Regions from separate parts of the Homo sapiens genome. Here region 1 is linked to region 2. Evidence: promoter capture Hi-C in 16 types of primary human blood cells and fetal thymus (Javierre and others, 2016). All regions are on one chromosome and are shown on one strand. Each heading gives the region's core, a stretch centred on a gene start or on the middle of the fragment in contact. The rest is flanking DNA. Distances are from core to core; before and after follow the strand shown. Region 1 has its middle 5.5 kb from the start of HTR3E-AS1. Region 2 holds the start of ALG3 (ALG3 alpha-1,3- mannosyltransferase).

Evidence for each region. Contacts are between HindIII fragments. The CHiCAGO score rates a contact against its expected background, and 5 or more counts as called.
Region 1: a contact is called between a fragment that was not itself captured here and the fragment with the promoter of ALG3 in region 2, in 2 of 17 cell types (M1 macrophages and endothelial precursors). The highest score is 6.2, in M1 macrophages.

The regions. Positions count from the first base shown.
Region 1 is chr3:184,107,812-184,113,552 of GRCh38, forward strand. No RefSeq gene overlaps it. Among named protein-coding and RNA genes, the nearest start is that of HTR3E-AS1, 5.5 kb to the left of the region's middle. The HindIII fragment of the contact is 3,629 bases long and covers 1,571-5,199 here.
Region 2 is chr3:184,247,545-184,253,785 of GRCh38, forward strand. ALG3 (ALG3 alpha-1,3- mannosyltransferase) reads right to left here and starts at 1,418. Exons shown (of 9, transcript NM_005787.6): 1 at 1,201-1,418. The coding sequence starts at 1,396. EEF1AKMT4-ECE2 (EEF1AKMT4-ECE2 readthrough) reads left to right here and starts at 2,128. Exons shown (of 19, transcript NM_014693.4): 1 at 2,128-2,346. The coding sequence starts at 2,151. EEF1AKMT4 (EEF1A lysine methyltransferase 4) reads left to right here and starts at 2,128. Exons shown (of 3, transcript NM_032331.4): 1 at 2,128-2,346. The coding sequence starts at 2,151. RefSeq lists enhancers at 1-742, 743-1,486, 1,685-1,734, 1,815-1,874, 1,905-2,014. The HindIII fragment of the contact is 5,512 bases long and covers 1-4,518 here.

The DNA.
Region 1 (5,741 bases), core at 2,135-4,634, 140 kb before region 2:
GTGACAGAGTGAGACTCTGTGAAAAGAAAGAAAGAGGCTGGGCGTGATATCTCACACCTGTAATCCCAGCACTTTGGGAGGCCAAGGTAGGTGGATCACCTGAGGTCAGGAGTTGGAGACCAGCCTGACCAACATGGAGAAACCACATCTCTACTAAAAATACAAAATTAGCTGGGTGTGGTGGTGTGTGCTTGTAATCCCAGCTACTCAGGAGGCTGAGGCAGGAGAATCCCTTGAACCCGGGAGGCAGAGGTTGCAGTGAGCCGAGATAGTGCCATTGCACTCCAGCCTGGGCAACAAGAATGAAACTCCATTAAAAAAAAAAAAGAAAGAAAAGAAAAAAGAAAGAAAACTAACCAGAACTGATAGTTTTAAAACATAACCTGTACATTTCTTTGACTCTTTGATTGTGATAAAGCTTCCATGTCATCAGGAACGATCCTCTCTCCCAAGACTGAAGTGACAACTGTTGGGTTTGAGAAGTTTTAATTCTCTTAGGTGTTTTCAGAAATATTTTCTTACTAGTAGATTCTTTTATCTTTTCCATTATCTTGTACTGATCTCATTTTAGCACTCTCCTAATTTATTATGTTTCATGTTATTCTTTTTCTGGTTTTCCAAGTTGAATTCTCCATTAAAGTGTTCTCAGTCTTTCTATTGATTTTACTCTGAACAGCTTAAGCTGTATCCCATAGGTTTTAGAATAAGGTGATCTCCTCTTCATTACTTTGTAGACAATTCATAATTTGTTTTAATTCTCTCTGATATAAAGGCTATTTGGGGCCAGATGCAATGGCTTATGCCTATAATCCCAATAGCTTGGGAGGCTGAGGTGGGAGGATTGTGTGAGCTCAGGAGTTCAAGACCAGCCTGGGCAACATAGCGAGACCCCATCTCTACGAAAAAAAAAAAATTAGCCAGGCATGTATGGCACACATCTGCAGTCCCACTGTGCAGGAGGCTGCAGTGGGAGGATTGCTTGAGTCCAGGAGATCAAGGCTACAGTGAGTTCTGATTGTTGCACTGCACTCCAGCCTAAGCGACAAAGCAAGGCCCTGTCTCAAAAAAAATAAAAATAGAAATAAAGGCTATTTGGGAGAATGTGTCTTCATATCTATGGATAAGGGATTTTTGTTATTGTTATCCTTTCATTGTTAATTTCTAGTTTCTTGGTTTATGATCAGAGAGCATGGTGTATAAATTTAAACCTTTTTGGATTTATAAAGCTTTCTTGGCCAGGCGCAGTGGCTCATGCCTGTAATCCCAGCACTTTGGGAGGCCAAGGCGGGTGGATCACGAGATCAGGAGTTCGAGATCAGCCAGGCCAATACGGTGAAACCCCGTCTCTACTAAAAATACAAAAATTAGCTGGGCGTGGTGGCGCATGCCTGTAGTCCCAGCTACTCAGGAGGCTGAGGCAGAAGAATCACTTGAACCCAGGAGGTGGAGGTTGCAGTCAGCCAAGATCACACCACTGTACTCCAGCCTGGAAGACAGAGGGAGACTCTGTCCCAAAAAAAAAAAAAAAAAAGCTTTTTCTCTGGCTGAATGCATGATTGGTTCTGTAACAAGCTTTGTTTCAGGACATTTAAAAAGTATATATTTGTGTTCTTAGGTGTTCTTTTTTTTAAAAAAAGTATATATTCTCTCTATATGCATCTACTAAATAGAGCTTATTTATTACATTATTCAAATCCTCTATATCATAGCTTATTTTTGTCTGTGTGGTCTGTTAAAGTTCAAAAGTATTTTATCCATGTTCTCTGGGTACTTGTAGTTTTCCTTTTATATGCTTGACAGCTATGTGATTTGATGCATAAAAATGTATGGTTATTATATCTTCTTGAATTGTGCCTGATTTTATCCTCATATATTGTCACTATTTGTTCTGTTCAATGTGTTTTGAACATGATTTCCATTTGTAGGATAGTGTTGCAAATCTTGCTTTTGCCTAGTATATTTTCGCACATCTCTTTCATTAATTCTTGATTCATTTTTGGAAGAGTAATATACATACAAGGTACAAATATCAAAAGGTACAGTATGGTCTGGGCACAGCGTTTCATGCCTGTATAAAAATAAAAATAATAGACCAGCCTGGCCAATATGGTGAAACTCCATCTGTACTAAAAATACAAAAGCTAGCGGGGCATGGTGGCACATACCTGTGGTCCCAGCTACTTGGGAGGCTGAGGCAGGAGAATCACTTGAACCCAGGAGGCAGAGGTTGCAGTGAGCCAAGATTGTGCCACTGCACTCCAGCCTGGGCAATAGAGGGAGACTCCGTCTCAAAAATAAATAAATAAACAAAAATTTTAAAAAAATTAAAATTAAAAAATAAATAAAATAAAATAAAATAAAATAAAAACGATAACAGCCCTTTCCCAAAACAAACCTCCTTCTTGCCTGGGGACTAGACTGCCTTTATAGGACTAACGAACTAGCCACAAGATTAGAAATTATGGTTTAGGAGTCATGCAGGTGGAGGCTACAAAATTCTGACCCTCCCTAAACTGCTCCTAAGATCAGTGCTTAAGGTATTTTGCAGACCCTGCACTTAATGAATCAGCTGGCCACCAAGATCGATAAACTGACTCATCTGATCTTGTGGCCCCGACCCAGGAACTGACTCAGCACAAGAGGACAGCTTCAACTTCACATGATTTCATCTCTGATCTGACCAATCGGCACTCCTGGCTCACTGGCTTCCCCCAACCCACCAAGTTGTCCTTAAAAACTCTGATCCCCGAATGCTCAGGGAGGCTGATAAAATTCCAGTGTCCCGCACAGCAGGCTCTGCATGAATTACTCTTCCTCTATTGCAATTTCCCTGTCTTGATGAGTTGGCTCTGTCTAGGCAGCAGGCAAGGTGACCCCATTGGCGATTACAGACGCTTGAATTTCACTAGGTTATGTCAAATGTGTGTTTTCACTAATCCTTTCTGTGTCTCAGTGACCTTTTTCAATGTGAATATTTAAATCTTTCTTCTGTTTGGGGAATTTTTTCTAGGATATAAGTAACACTCTACTTACTCTCTTCCATCTGTTCTTTTTCTGTTCAGGCATTTCTTTTTTTTTTTCTTTTTTTTTTTTTTTTGAGATGGAGTCTCGCTCTGTCACCAGGCTGGAGTACAATGGCGTGATCTCAGCTCACTGCAACCTCCACCTCCTCGGTTCAAGCGATTCTCCTGCCTCAGCCTCCCAAGTAGCTGGGACTACAGGCGCACGCCACCATGCCCGTCTAATTTTTGTATTTTTAGTAGAGATGGGGTTTCACCATGTTGGCCAGGATGGTCTTGATCTCTTGACCTCGTGATCTACCCGCCTCGGCCTCCCAAAGTGCTGGGATTACAGACATGAGCCACCGTACCCAGCGCTGTTCAGGCATTTGTGCTATTCACAAGTTAGGTCCTATGGATCTGTTTTCTAAACTGTCTTTTTCTCTTCCAGCTTCCATTTTTTGTGGCTTGGCTTTGTGTTGTGACCAATCTTTCAGACAACAATTCAGTTTTCAGGAGTGACCATTTCTATTCTCAGCTCATCTACTGAATGTTTTAATTAAAAATAATTTTTAATTTCATAAAGTCTTTTTTTATTTTTTTGAGACGGAATCTTGTTCTGTTGCCCAGGCTGGAGTGCAGTGGCACGATCTTGGCTCACTGCAACCTCCACCTCCCGGGTTCAAATGATTCTCCTGCCTCAGCCTCCCAAGTAGCTGGGATTACAGGTGCATGCCACCGTACCCGGCTAATTTTGTATTTTTAGTAGAGATGGGGTTTCACCATGTTGGCCAAGCTGGTCTTGAACTGCTGACCTCAGGTGATCCACCCACCTCGGTTTCCCAAAGTGCTGGGATTACAGGCATGAGCCACCATGCCCAGCCTCATGAAGTCTTTTAAGTGTTCTAATCACATGTCCTAGAAATTATCTTCTCTCCTTTCTTAATCCTACTTCAGAAGGAGCCCTTGTCCTCAATATTCATATTGGTCATTGACATGGTTTATTTATTTTATTTTATTTTATTTTATTTTATTTTATTTTATTTATTGAGATGCAGTCTTGCTCTGTCTCTCAGGCTGGAGTGTAGTGGCATGATCTCGGCTCACTGCAACCCAGTGAGGTTCAAAAAATTCCAAAGATTCTCCCAGGTTCAAAAGATTCTCCTGCCTCAGCCAACCAAGTAGCTGGGATTACAGGCGCCTGCCAACGTGCTTGGCTAATTTTTGTATTTTTAGTAGAGAAGGGGTTTCACCATGTTAGCCAGGCTGGTCTCGAACTCTTGACCTCTCAGGTGATCCGCCCATCTCAACCTCCCTAAGTGCTGGGATTACAGGTGTGAGCTACTGTGCCCGGCCTGACATGGTTAATTTTAAATGTCAATTTGGCTAGACTGTGGCGCCCAGTCGTCTGGTCAAACACTGGTTTAGATGTTGCTGTGAAGGTATTTTGTATATGTGATTGACAATCAGTAGGCTTTTTTTTTTTTTCCTTTTGAGACAGAGTATCTGTTGCCCAGGCTGGAGTGCAGTGGTGCGATCTCAGTTCACTGCAACCTCCGCCTCCTGGGTTCGAGCGATTCTCGTGCCTCAGCCTCCCAAGTAGCTGGGATTACAGGCATGTGCCACCACACCTGGCTAATTTTGCATTTTTTTAGTAGAGACGGGGATTCACCATGTTGGCCAGGCTGGTCTCGAACTTTAGCCTCCAGTGATCCACCCGCCTCGGGATCCCAAAATGCTGGGATTACAGGTGTGAGCCACTGCGCCTGGCCCCGTTGTTTTCGTTGCCTGCTCGTAATTTTGTGTCCTCTCAGTACCTGTATAGGTCACACTGTAAGGTTCTTTCGAAGAAGAGCAAACCAACTTAACTGTGGCGGCCTGGGCCAGGCTGCTTATATGAACCAGTGATGAAACACTGTCATTCTGCTGAAGCACATGGAGGGCATGCCTCAATTCCCAGGTCAATCCAGGAACAAGTAGCAATCCTCTCCCATGTGCAGAGAATGGAAATAATTGAACGTATTCATTCAATTTCCCCTGCCTTCCAACATGAACCAGTCAGGCTGTCCAATGACCACAGCAGCAAACAGTTAGAGGCAGCTCTTCCCCAAGTTCACAGGTTTCTATTTGAAGTCTATCTGCTGGACTCCTTCGGAGGACTGTAAAGCTCTGATCTTTACACAAGCCTCAAAGAGAGACAAGCTTTTTCCTCAATACTGGTCCATATCATTCAATTGGAACCCAAAGAGAGGAAACAAAGGCACAGACCTGACCATCATTCTTCTTTCCACTCTCTTACCTCTTTTCACTCCTTTATTTTCCCCAAACCCCCTACAATGTCAGGGGTGAGATTTTCCCCTGCATCATATCATCATTCTTCCTGACTCTAGTTTCTTGACTAAATGGTAGACAAAGTTGTCTTCTAGATTATGGGGAAAGCTCATAATTTGACCAACTAGGTCAAATTATGCTTGGTATGCTTAAGAGAGATCTAAAAGTATATAGAAATTCCTTTCACTCTCAAACTATTACCTTGCTGAATAATCACAGTTTTAATATGAGCCATTAAATGTTACCTTTTTCAAAACATGGGTTTTTTCATTTTTCATAAATTACAAGTTTATAGAGAGAGAGAAGGAATCTCTCAATTAAAAAAATTAAGGTGCATAACTTCACACTAGTCATGATAAAATGTTAAATAAACTTAAGTTGATTCTAATAATTTGAAACAGCTTCCCATAG
Region 2 (6,241 bases), core at 168-2,667:
GCCTAGGCCTACCAAAGTGCTGGGATTACAGGCGTGTGCCGCTGCGCCCAGCCTAGCTGGAGATTTTTAATAGAGGATCCTCTGTCCACAGCACTCCTTCCCCTCACCTTTTTCTTCTTTCCTTAAATAGCTAATTCCTACCTTCCAAGGGTGGCTCTATGAAGCCTTTGCTGACTCCTCCAACCTGGTTTAAGTGACTTCCTATGCCCTTTATGGTATCCTGTGTTACTACTACCATGATTATGATGCATTATAATTGCCTGCTAACTTACTGTCCAGGCCCGAGTTAGAAATGCATCCTTTTTCTTTTTTTTTTTTTGAGACGGAGTCTTGCTCTGTCGCCCAGGCTGGAGTGCAGTGGCGTGATCTCGGCTCACTGAAAGCTCTGCCTCCCGGGTTCACGCCATTCTCCTGCCTCAGCCTCCCGAGTAGCTGGGACTACAGGCGCCCGCCACCATGCCCGGCTAAATTCTTTTTTTTTTTTTTTTTTCAGTAGAGACGGGGTTTCACCGTGTTAGCCAGGATGGCCTCGATCTCCTGACCTCGTGATCCGCCCGCCTCGGCCTCCCAAAGTGCTGGGATTACAGGCGTGAGCCACCGCGCCCGGCAGAAATGCATCTCTTATTCACCACTGTACCTCTCTCTGGTAACCAGCATAATGCTAGGCATATAATAAGCACTAAATAAATATTTGTTGAATTAAGAGTCTTTAGCAAGAAAGCCAAGTGCCTTAAGCCTAGAGTATAGTTTCAGCCTGGAAAGGAGTAGCCAATAATGCCTAATGGACTCAAGTGGTCACAAGATGCCATCATTGAGAAGGGACGTTCAAAGATCACAGAACTGAACACATGGAAAAAGCTGAGATCCAGGAGGAGACCTGAGGTGTCCAAAGCCACAGAGAAAAGCAGCAGCAGCAGCAGTACAACAATTTTGGCTCAAATCTGACTTCTAAGCTGGTTTGCAGGCTGTAAGTTCAGTGCAGAAGGCCAATCTCTAGGGTATCCACCTCTGCCATGCGGGCAGATTAAGATCCGGTTTTCTGTAGAGCAGGCTTGGCGCTCAGGTAAGGGATATGGATGGGTTCGCAATTGACGAGTGAGTGGATACAGAGTCTGGTTTGGAGTTCCAGGTCTGAGATCCAGTTTGGGTCGCGGGTTCAGGTCTCCCTCCCTCCCCTCCCCTCCCCCTCGGCGCACTCACATGCCACCCTGTGAATGACCCAGAAGGTGATGCCCACCTCCGCCAGGCAGAGGCAGGCGGCCACCAGCAGCGTGTAGCGCGGCTCCCGCAGCAGCAGGCGCCGCTCTTGCCAGGCGCGCTGCAGCCATTGCTTGCAGAGTCCCTCTGCCTGGGCCGCGGAACCGGACCGGCCGCGTTTCCGCAGCCCAGCCGCCATCTTAACGGTGCGCCGCTTGTGTGGGCCCACCACCCCCGGAAACCCGAACCTTCGACACTTAGGTTCCGCTTCCCGTGCCTGGCGTCCCACCAGGCTAAGCGCCGATCCGAGTAGCCAGTCTTCATTTACTCCACTAAAATGTAATTTTTCTGCATTTGTCTCCTCTGATGCACTCCACGCTCCATAGGAGCAGGGACAATGTCTTACTCCTCAGTTTATACCCAGCCCTGGGTACACAGGCGCTAATTTAGAACGAATGTCCAGAAAAGCAACATTCCTGCCTACCTCCCCCACAACCGCTGAAGCCAGCATTCTCCTTCGCCTGCGCTGGGAACATCTGTGTTCATGCTGTCTCTCCAGGAGGGCAAAGCCCCTGTTCGCGCCCCTCCTGCCTGCCCTTCGAGCCTTCCGGATGCTGAGAAAAATGAACCTTTCACTAATTTTCAGATTTCCTGATAAAAGTCATTCATATTGAAAATATGAGAGGACGCAGTGATGAGCCCACGTGAGTCTGACACCTTGAGTGCGGCCCTAGGAAATGACTTGGCAGTACAGCCGGAGGATTCAGGGTCTGGACGATAGTTTTCCCAGCCGGAGGATTCTTCGAAGAGCGCTTAGTAAAGGACGGAAGTTCCACGTGTTTGTGTTGAGCAACTGCAGGTGGTGGGCGGAGACACCAGCGCCCCGCCTTCTGCATCCTGCCTTCCGTATTGGCTGAAGGGCCGGCGGCTCTGGCTGCCCGGCGGTTGAGAGCATGGCCTCTCCAGGGGCAGGTAGGGCGCCTCCGGAGTTACCGGAGCGGAACTGCGGGTACCGCGAAGTCGAGTACTGGGATCAGCGCTACCAAGGCGCAGCCGATTCTGCCCCCTACGATTGGTTCGGGGACTTCTCCTCCTTCCGTGCCCTCCTAGAGCCGGAGCTGCGGCCCGAGGACCGTATCCTTGTGCTAGGTGGGTAATCCCGGCGCGGCCCCGCCAGGTAGAGCTGGCAGGACCGGCGCCGCATGGGCTTGGCCTGGTCCGCTTTCCTCCCGCCTGTCTATCCCTCTTGGAGGACGCCTGCGTTGGGACGCGAGATCCAGCTCCTTCAGAGTCCCGGCTGTATTTAGTCAAGGCTAACAGGAGTAAGAGATTGTTGGTCCCGGGGCCCTCTGGAGAAAGACAGTCCCTCAGAGTTTGAGCGTTGGGGGTACCCAAGACCCTGTCCGGACCCTCGGGAGGCAGGCAGCCTTGGGGACCGGATTGCTCAGAGGACCGAGATCAAGTCCTAGCGCTAATTGACTTGTAAAACTTAGGACAAGTCATGAACCCGTTCTGAGCTTTAGATTCAGTTCTAGAAATGGTACTGCGAGTTCACATCGGAGGCGGCACGCGCAGGCACCTCGAGAATAATGCCCAGCGCTTTTCTTTTTGCCCCTGGGCACTGGGAGCCAGAGTCACCTAGAGAGAGTCCTGTCTGAAACTTGGTCCTATGCCTTAGAGAGTGAGAACAGCACCCTCTAGGGGTGGAGGGGAGATTGCCGCCCAGGGTGATACGATTCCCCAAAGGGAGACGTGCTGGAGGAAAGGTAGGGCTCTGGGGTGTTCGGCTGACCTCTTGAGGTTCTCTCCTAGTGTCAGCCTTGGAGGCGCTAGTAAAGTTTGAATGAGCAACAGATTTTCTTCCAATTGTCGTTTTTACTTTGCTCTTTGTAAAAGCCTTTGTATGTTTAAGTGAAGTCTTTAATAAATAAAAAAGGTATATGTAATATATATGTAAGGTATAAATAACAAATCTAATGTGTGTGTCTATTCCACTCAGTTTGAGAAATAGAACATTACTAGGGATAGAAAAAAAAGTATAATTTAGTGGTTAATAACTTGGCTGGGCGCGGTGGCTCACGCCATTAATCCCAGCACTTTGGGAGGCCAAGGCGGGCGGATCACCTGAGGTCGGGAGTTCGAGATCAGCCTGACCAACATGGAGAAACCCCATCTCTACTAAAAATACAAAAAATTAGTCGGGTGTGGTGGCGCATGCCTATAATCCCAACTACTTGGGAGGCTGAGGCAGGAAAATCGCTTGAACCAGGGAGGCGGAGGTTGTGGTGAGCCAAGATCATGCCATTGCACTCCAGCCTGTGCAAGAAGAGCAAAACTCTGTCTCAAAAAAAAAAAAAAAAAAAGAAAAGAACTTGGACTCTGGGCTGGCCTCATGATTCATGCTCATAATCCCAGCACTTTGGGAGGCCAAGGTGGAAGGATCACTTGATCGCAGGAGCTCAAGACCAGCCTGGGCAACATAGTGAGATCCCATCTCTACAAAAAATTTAGGCCAGAGCAGTGGCTTATGCTTGTAATCACAACACTTTGGGAGACCAAGGCGGGTGGATCATTTGAGGTCAGGAGTTCAAGACAAGCCTGGCCAACATGGTGAAACCCCGTCTCTACTAAAAATACAAAAATCAGCCAGGTGTGGTGGCACGTGCCTGTAATCCCAGGTACTTGGGAGGCTGAGGCAGGAGAATCACTTGAGCCCAGGAGGTGGAGGTTGCAGTGAGCTGAGATTGCACCACTCCACTCCAGCCTGGGTGACAGAGTAAGACCCTGTCTCAAAAAAAAAAAAAATTAAAACTTAGCTGGGCATGGTGGCCTGTGCCCATAGTCCGAGTTACTCAAGAGGCTGAGGCAGGAGGATCGTTTGAGCCAGGAGATCCAGGCTGCAGTGAGCTGTGATGGCTCCAATGGGCTCCAGCCTAGGCGACAGAATGAGACCCTGTCTCAAAACAAAGCAAAACAAAAAACAAACAAACAAAAAACCACCTTGGACTCCAGAGGCAGTGAATTATGTTGGAATCTTGGCTCGGCTTATACTGGCTGTGTAATCCTGGACAAAATACTTGAATTTCTGTGCTTCCATTTTCTCAACCTTAAAAACATAAGCATATTTATTAATTGGGCTTTAAGTTGATTAAATGAGCATGAAGGATACCTAGAACAATGCCTGGCAAAATGAAAAGTATATTCAAGGTTCTCTGTGTGGTCCTCCTAAAACCCCTTCTCCCCACAAGTAAACACTTTCTTGAATCTGTGATTTTAAACCATTGCACTTATTTATAGATTTACCTTAGATCTGTTTTCTCAAGCTTTAGTGTGTATCAAAATTACCTGGGGAACTAGACTGCACTGTGAGATTCTAATTCCAGGGATGGTCTAATGTGGGTCTCAGGAATCTGTATGTTCAACAAGCTTCACAGCAGATTCTTATGCTGGTGATTGGCAGAGTAACACTGCCTTAAAATCTGCTTGACTGGTTTTTCACCAAACTGATGCTTTAAAAAAAATCTGCTTAACTGGGAACTATCCTTTTCTGGATAGGAGGGGCAAGAAGTCTAAAAATCAAAAGGGGAATTTCTAGAATCCCCAAGATGTAAGAACAGGACCCACAACTTGGGAAATACTCTACGTTACATTCCACCTCAACAGACTTAAGTTGAGTGCCTGATAAGAGCCAGAGAATGTGCTGGGCCCTTTCTAACTTACTTAATCCTTATGACAACCCCTGAAGACAAGTCAAAAGTACTAAGAGACTTACTCCAGGTTAGGGGTCTGTAAACTTTGTTTGAAAATGGCCAAACAAGTAAATTTTTTAGGCTTTGCAGGCTACACAGTCTCTTTTACAATGACTTGGTTCCGCTATTGTAGTGGAAAAGCAGCTACAGACAATACAAAAGTGAATGATGGCCGGGCAGGGTGGCTCACGCCTGTAATCCCACCACTTTGGGAGGCCGAGGCGGGCGGGTCACCTGAGGTCAGGAGTTCGAGAGCAGCCTGGCCAGCATGGTGAAACCCCGTCTCTACTAAAAACATAAAAATCAGCCAGGTGTGGTGGCAGGCACCTGTAATCCCAGCTACTCCAGAGGCTGAGGCAAGAGAATTAATTGCTTGAACCAGGGAGGCGGAGGTTGCAGTGAGCCAAGATTTCACCACTGCACTCCAGCCTGGGTGACAGGGTGAAACTCCATCTCAAAAAAAAAAAAAAAAAAAAAAAAAGTGAATGAGAATAGCCATGTTTCAATATAACTTTATCTAACAAAATAGGTGGCAAGCTGCATTTGGCAACCCCTGCACTCATTGTCTTAGATTGAGTTCCCCAGAAGCAAATCCTGAGATGAGGATTCATGTCCAAGTTACTTGTCAAGAATGTGCTCCCAGGAGAATTGGTAAGAGCTAGAGGGAACAGAGAAAGGGAAGAAGCAAAGTTTCCCTGAAGGTAGTTTCAGCCTGAAGAGTCACAGATGTACACCATTAGAAGCAAACACACACCAAAACCCAGGGATATAAAAATAAAAATCGGTAAAAAGACTCCCAGGGCATCTGGTCAGAACACTGACAGTGTCCACTACTGTCATGCAGCAAGGAAGTGGTAAAGTAAGGGTGCTTTGTGACACCACACAGATGGGAGTAGGGAGGCATCTGGAACTCTTAAAACTGGTAAAATGACTACATTGTGAATTATAGCCTAATGGTCATATGGATATAGCTAACAATGGAATGTCACGACTGAAGGTGAGTGGGCCTCTTGAAAACTGGGAGGCAGTTGAACACAGTGGTTTAAGAGCTCTGGCTCTGGAGCGATAGAGGCCTGGGTCCAAATTCTGGCTCTTCCACTGACTATGTGACCTTGAGAAAGTTTCTTACCACTTTCCTCAATTTTCCCATGTAGAAAATGGGAATAGTAATAATAGTGTCTTTTTTTTTTTTTTTTTTACATGGAATCTCGTTCTGTTGTCCAGGCTGGAGTGCAGTGGTGCAATCTCAGCTCACTGCAAACTCCACCTCCTGGGTTCAAGCGATTCTCCTGCCT